Regions from separate parts of the Homo sapiens genome. Here region 2 is linked to region 1. Evidence: promoter capture Hi-C in 16 types of primary human blood cells and fetal thymus (Javierre and others, 2016). All regions are on one chromosome and are shown on one strand. The core of a region is centred on a gene start or on the middle of the fragment in contact, and the rest is flanking DNA. Distances in the headings are between cores, read along the strand shown.

Region 1 (3,760 bases), core at 699-3,198:
ATGACATTTTACATTTTGATTAGATTTCTTGATTCAAGCATTTTGTTACATTCTAACTTACAAAACCAGAGCTGGCTTTATAAGTGTGTGACCTGTGCAACTGTGTGTTTAGGAGGGCTCCACAATCGATTTAATGTTGTGTTGTTGCCATCTTGAAATTCTTAACGATTTTTGAACAGAAGGCCCTGCCTTTTCATTTTGCATTGTGCCCTGCAAATTTTATAGCTGGTTCTGGCTACAACTTCTAATTTATAGTTTAATTTCTAGGTCCGGGATTCTCTCCTGTTTTAGTTAGAAATCCACATGGATCGCTTTCCTCCGCACACATTCTCAATGTTTATGTTGATATAAAACTAGCAAAGGCTGCCTGCTAAGACTGCCAGACTGTAGGATGCGCTGCCAACTGAGCGCAGGACGCGCAGTGCCCTCCTTGGGCTTCAAAGGGCAGGGGCTCCATCCTTCAGCCTCAGCCATCTGTACTGTAGTGGCCTGAGCTTCTGTCACTGGCAATTCCCACATCAATGCAATGTTTGTAATAATAGTCCAGCAGACTGCGTGGAGGACTCGGTGAGAGAATAAATAGTCCTCTGAAAACTAGAGGTTATCAGTCACCTCAAGGATGAGACCCATCCTGTGAAAACCCACAGCCTCCATGCACCCCCTCTTCTTGCTGGTGTTGAGTATTTGCTCAAGTCCTGCCCTAATTTCCTTCAAGCAAATGCTTGATGGCCCAGTAACAACAGTCTCTACAGGGCAGTAAAAAGGAACTATTCAGAGAGAGCCTCTGAGTCCTATTAATGCTTGTGAAGATGATTCAACTTCAGAAAACACTTCTGACCTCTTAGCGTGTGCTGTCTGTCCTCCATCCAGGCGCTGAGGGCACAGCAGCGAGCAAACACAATGACAATGAGATAATTACAATTTATCATGGTGGCCCAGACATCGTGGGTTTACTCCCTGGCCTCTAATAGTCACCTCGCAGAGCTGATGTGAGGATGTGAGGAGATAATAAGCGTCTGGGCATTGAAAGACCTACTTTGCGGGAGTATGCGCAAGGTGCAATACAAGCACACGATTAAAAAAAAAAGGCAAGTTGTTCCTGAAAATGCATAGAGGTATTTTCCCCAATAGGAGCAGCTTAAATGCAAACAAACAGAGGAAGAAATTTAAGTTATCTTTTCTGCTAATTTCCAAACAACAGAACGTGACATCCAGCACAGCATCACTCCCTAGATCTGCAACCGAGGGGAATGCTAGTGGATAGACATGCCAACAGCGAAAAAAGCCTGTGCTCACTCCAGTGCTGGCCGCTTCTGACTGTCCAGTGCTTCTCGGGGCGCGCTCCCTCTTTCTCTTCCCACGCCCGCCTAGTCCCAGCGACCGAGGGAGGTTGCACCCGGGCGACCCTCCCCCCGCCCCGGGCTCCCGCGTAATCCCGGCCCGGCTTGGAAAGGAAGCGGGCCTGGCAAGTAGAGGCACGGCCGGGCCACGGTGGGCAGGGCGCAAGGGCGGGGCTATAGCCTAACTGCGCCGCCAAGGCTGCTGCTGGGTTTGGAAAGGAAGCGGGAGAGGAGGGGTCGGGCTGAGCTGTGGGTGGGGAAAAGGGCGGGGCCATGGATGGGCCACGTGCCTTCTTAGGTGGAGTCCGGGGCTCGGTAGGGAGAGGCGGGGCCAAGCTGAGGTGGGTGGAGAAAGAGGGCGTGTCCATGGCCTAGCTACGCCGCTGAGGCTGCTGCGGGGTTTGGAAAGGAAGCGGGAATGGCAGGGAGAGGCGGGATCAGGCTGAGGTGGGCGGGGAGTCGGGGGCGGAGCCATGAGTGGACCTCGTGCCGGCTTAGGTGGAGCCCGGGGCGCGCGGGGAGAGGCGGGACCGAGCCGAGGTGGGTGTGGCGTGGGGCGGGGCAATGGCGGGGCGGGGTTCGCCGCTCCCTGGGGCCCAGCCCAGCCACTCGATCAGCCCGCCGGCTCCGGAGCGGCTCTGCCTTCCCGAGCGCGGGACGCGGCGCCCTGGGGGAGGAGGGCGAAGCGACGCGGCGATGGCTCCGCGGGCACTCCCGGGGTCCGCCGTCCTAGCCGCTGCTGTCTTCGTGGGAGGCGCCGTGAGTTCGCCGCTGGTGGCTCCGGGTGAGTGTCCGGTCGTAGCCGGGGCGCCGGGTGCTGAGCCCGGTCCCGGGAGCGCGGAAGGAAGCGAGGGGTCGGGACGGCAGCCCCGCGGCGTCCTGCTTTCTGGCACAGCCGCGGGATCCCGGCACTGAACAACTGGCTGTCCCGCGGCGGTCCGGGCAGGGCGCGGTGCGTGGCAACGGCTCCCGTCCCTCCCCTCCCGCGGGCCCCGCTCCCGCCTTCCCTCCCTGGGGCCTCCTCCGAGGATCTGTGTTCCCCAGCGCTGGGCAGTGCGGGGCGTAGGGACCAGGCCTTCTTCGGGGGCGCTTCCTCCACGGCCGCTCGCCTCGGAACCCCGCGGACCCGTTTCCCGCCGCCCTTGTCCTCAAAGGCGCCGCGAGCGGAAGATCGTGACACAGAGCACCGGGTGCGCTGTCGGCGCCTCCTTCTCCCTTTTAAATACCTTAAAATATCCTAAAACCTGGAGGACTTTGAATCTCTTTCCACGTTTCCATTTATTTGGGTGGTTGATGGATTCTTGTAACAGGTCAAGGAGTCCACATTTCTTCCCATATATCCTGTATAAATCAGGCTCGGAAAAAGGGAAGGCGCGTTGGTAAACTTACATTTTTTTCTTCTTTTTGTTGATTCCTGTCGTCACGAAAGGAACCTTGTGTGGTCAGGGCAGGAAGCCACCAACAGAGATGCTAAAGTGTCACCAACGATGAAGCAGTTTTTAATTGAAATCAATCTTAAGAGGAGGTGTAAGTTTTATGGAAGTCCTATGTCACATCCTTGCTTTTATAATTACAGACACTAGGGATTCCTTACCACCGCTTCCCCTCTTAATTGCCACCTAACAGCTGCAGTTAAAAAAAAAACATACTTACTTGGCCATTTGGGGTTACTACAGCTGGGAATCTGACGTCAGCAAGCTCTTCCAAGCTTGATTTCAGCGGTGGTTCCTCCTCAGGCCCAAATAATAAGCAACTGGAAGCCTTTCAACAGTGACTGTCTCCTCCATAAACATCCATAAACTCTTCCTCCTGAGAACATTTCAGTCGCTTACAACTTTTACACTGACTTAGCAGTTTGGCCTTCACTTTTTCATAGAAACCAGAGCAGGTTGGAAGGGAAGGAGATGGATAATATTGTCTCCTGAGTCTTTTTAGCAGGCCCGTATTTCCGTTAGCCATCCACCTGGGGAAATGGCAGCTAGTGACATGTTTTACTGGATGGGACAATTTTTTTTTTCTTTTCCTTATTTTGATACAGGGGCTCATTTTGTCACCCAGACTGGAGTGCAGTGGCACAACCTCGGCTCACTGCAACCTCCAGCTCTCTGGTTCAAGTGATTCTCCTGCCTCAGCCTTCTGAGCAGCTGGGATTACAGGCATGTGCCACCATGCCCGGCTAATTTTTGTATTTTTAGTAGAGATGGGGTTTTGCCATATTGGCCAGGCTGGTCTCGAACTCCCGACCTCAAGTGATCCTCCTGCCTCGGCCTCCCAAAGTGCTGGTATTACAGGCATGAGCCACCATGCCCTGCTGGTTCATTTTGATTTTCATCCTGCGTTTGATTGCTGGGACACATAGGTGCATAATCAGGTTCCACTTGGATGTGAGGTTGGAGACATTCATTAGAGGGTTAGAGTCA
Region 2 (3,760 bases), core at 698-3,197, 1.2 Mb before region 1:
GCTCGTACATATGGCTAAATATGTAGTCATAAATATGTATCAACCAGTAAACTTTCCTTAGAAGTTGATTTTTAAAAAAAAACCCAAATTGTGGAACTATACTTATTTTATTTTAAACTATCTCATCCAGCTAAAATAATGCTCAAAATTGCTTGATAAGGGAAACTGCAATTATTCTTGAAATGTTAAATATGGTGATAATAGAAAACAGGCTGTTTAAAATAACTTTCCACTCAGGTGACAAATGTAATAACCAGGCTGCAAACTCTTACAGAGAAATATTACCTTAGAAAAATATTTTTCTTCACATTGAATTGTTTGTAAGTTGCTTCCTCACACGAATTAGAAAATTGGATTACTGGTTTTGTCTGTAGCCCAGAAAAAACTGCTAACTCACCTCCGGACCTTTGAAAGGTAAAAATATACGTAGGAGTAATTCCAGTGTGGGCCAACAGATGGCACCAATCTGTTTCTAAGGTACCGCTTTACTCAACTTTAAGAACTTGTGTTTGTCAAGCATTTTCAATTGTATTTCCGTTCATTTACAAGTTATTTTCTCTTCTTCTGAAAAAGAGATCTTGGTAAGTAGAAAGACTTCTGTGGCTTTTTCACATTATGGCACAGGTGCTTCAAGTAAGCAAGTTTGCTAACCATTCATTATATAGGAAATAGGTAATGTTTCCTTGAAATTTTTGCAAAATGATTTGAAGTGGTTTTTTTTGTAGATGTTGCAAATGTCCTTTGAATTTCACGAGCAGGATGAAGAGCAGCGTCTTTACAGCTGTCTTGAAAAGATAGAAAACAACTAGCGCTTGTGGTGATAATTAAGGAACAAAACTAATGTTATTTATTTCTTCTGATTTGGCCCAGCGAATTTTCTCTTTTCGTCTTTCTCTAGTTTATTGTTTTCAGTAACATTTAACAGTAATTTTTATATACCACTGATATGGCACCTATTTATTATATGTTTTTACAGCAGACGTGTGTTTGATCTCCCTTGTCGTTTGTCACTGTAACAGTTTGCTGGTCTGTGTCTGTCCCTAATTCATAAGCTTTTTGAAAGCAGGAATTATGTCAGTCCTATTCATATTTATATCCCTGGTGCCTAGTGCGTAGCATGGCACTGGCAGAAAAATAGACTCTGAATAAACATTTATTAAATGGAGGAAGTGGCCGGGACCAAGCCCCTTCACAAGCTTGAATCTGGCACAGTGTAGCAATTGCCTTCCTCCAGGTCCTTCCACCTTCAGTTTGACAAATGAAACAATGTTTTTCTTGCCTATTTGTTAACTTGATTATGTGATCTTTCCTCCACTTATTTCACTTAATTTTTTTTCTGCTCTCTTCTTCCTTGTAGTTTTAATTTTCATAGGTCTTGTCTACCCTTTTTTTCTGAAATGTAGCTTATTTCATCTATTTCCTCACCCTTTTTATTTGATGCATTTAAAAAATCAAGAGCATTTACCTGTTTATTTTTACTTTCTTTAAAAAACTGTGAACTCTCTAATCTTCCACTCTCATCTTCCCATTTTTCCCTCCTTTTTTCCCAATAAATAGAAAAGTTACTATCTTGTTCATTTAGTGTATTCCCTAGGAACTGCCTCAGGGTATGAACGCCTCTGGAGGAATATTGCGTTTTTGTGGCAGGATACCATAAGGACAGCTGACCAGCTTTTCCACCTGGTGACTGATTTTCAGTCCCATGAACCCAGACACCGTGGGTCTGGTTGCCGGGGACCTGTAGGGTAGGTCCTCATCTGTGAATGCCAGTTATCTACTATTATCTGAAAGTTCTCCATCTTTATATTTTAATATTCCAAATAAAACAAGCACGTTTCTTTAAATATAAAATATTTTCACACAGCTATAAAGACAACTCTTAAATTGCCTTACGATAACTTTTTTGGATTATAAAGGACATTCAAAATGAGACATTTTAGGGATATCTGAAAGTATAAGAAAGAAAATTAAATTCATCTATAATTCAGAGATTCAGAGAACCACTATTATTAGTATTTGGTATATTTCATCACATTGTTTGTCCTCTAGCTTTTACGTATATGTCAGGTTTTAATCATATTTTGCAAAATTAGAGTCTTACTACATATATAATTTTTTTTTTTTTTTTTTGAGACGGAGTCTTGCTCTGTCGCCCAGGCTGGAGTGCAGCGGCACGATCTCGGCTCACTGCAAGCTCCGCCTCCCGGGTTCACGCCATTCTCCTGCCTCAGCCTCCCGAGTAGCTGGGACTACAGGCGCCCGCCACCACGCCCGGCTAATTTTTTTGTATTTTTTTTTAGTAGAGACGGGGTTTCACCGTTAGCCAGGATGGTCTCGATCTCCTGACCTCGTGATCCACCCGCCTTGGCCTCCCAAAGTGCTGGGATGAGAGGCGTGAGCCACTGCGCCCGGCCATAATTTTCTATTACTGTATTCATTTAACATTATCATTTTTTCAAAGTACAGTATTTGAGGCTATTATTTAATTATACATAACTGATTTAATCATTTTCTACACTAGACATTCTGATTTTTTCAATATTTCATTATGTCATGAGTATCCTTATAGTCATATCTTCTGTGTGTTATTTTTGACTATTTCTTTAGAAAATTCCTTGTAGTGGAATTGCTAAAATAAAGGAAGGTATATTTTTAAGAAATTTATGTAAATTACCAAATTACCCTTTAGAAAGCTTGTACTAATTTTTCATTCCTGCCTAAGTAGTAAATGAGGGTTCTTATTTTAGTTTCCACCTACCAACCTGGATATTATATTTTTTAATTTTCCCTATTTGATAGGTGAAAAAAAAATCTTGCCTTTTAAAAAATCTTTTAAGAAACAAGAGTCCTCCTTTGACCCCCTTCCTCTTTTTATGCTTAAATATCTTATAGTAAAAATAACAGGCATTCTGGAAACCTATTTCTAAAAGCTTTATTCTCTATCTCTAAAAAAATTACATTTTCCTAAAATAGCCAAATAACATTATAAAAAATTACAATTTATTTCTTAATAGCATCTAATGGCTGGTCCATCATAGAATCTGCCCCTCCTTCTGTTACTGAATATGTTTTATAGCAAGTCTGTCTTAACTGAGATCTAATCCAAGATCATGAGTTTCATCTAGATGTTATGTGCTTTTTTGATTTAACGTGCTGTTTTATTTTTTGTGAGATTGCACATTATTCATATTATTGGCAATTGATTTTTGGCAAATTATTCAGTAAATAGTACAGTAAACTTAATTTTGAATGTTAAAAGTTTGAAAAATATAGATAAAAACTAAGAGGAAAATAAAGTTCCATTATAATCTTACTGTGCAAAGATAATTACTGTTCATATCTTGGTATGTATCTTATTAATTTTTCTACTTGCATAGGTACATATTTACTTTGGTACTTTTTAAATAAACTGCTTTTTGTCACATATAGTGAAAATATTTTCATGCAATTCGATTTTTATTATTTTTAAAGGCTACATAGTACTATTTAATTATACAGAGATACTAAAATTTATTTGATAACCTGCTATTTTTGGATAATTGAGGGATTTGTTTTCAAAATAGAATTTATTTTTGCCAGGAGCAGTGGCTTGTACCTGTAACCCCAGCTCCGTGGGAGGCTGAGGTGAGAGGATGGCATGAGCCCAGGACCTTAAGCTATGATTGTGCCACTGCACTCCAGCCTGGGCAGTGGGACAAAACCCTGTCTCTTAAAAAGAAAGTGTTTAAGAAAATAGTAATGATAATAATTTATTTTGTGA

Evidence for each region. The method cuts DNA at HindIII sites, captures the fragments that hold promoters and counts their contacts. A CHiCAGO score of 5 or more calls a contact.
Region 2: a contact is called between a fragment that was not itself captured here and the fragment with the promoter of RELL1 in region 1, in 1 of 17 cell types (fetal thymus). The highest score is 7.2, in fetal thymus.

Annotation. Positions count from the first base shown.
Region 1 is chr4:37,684,564-37,688,323 of GRCh38, reverse strand. It overlaps RELL1 (RELT like 1), which reads left to right and starts at 1,948. Exons shown (of 7, transcript NM_001085400.2): 1 at 1,948-2,124. The coding sequence starts at 2,037. RefSeq lists silencers at 1,250-1,559, 1,740-2,409. The HindIII fragment of the contact is 3,799 bases long and covers 1-3,050 here.
Region 2 is chr4:38,853,582-38,857,341 of GRCh38, reverse strand. TLR6 (toll like receptor 6) reads left to right here and starts at 525. Exons shown (of 2, transcript NM_006068.5): 1 at 525-581. RefSeq lists an enhancer at 1-76. The HindIII fragment of the contact is 1,497 bases long and covers 1,199-2,695 here.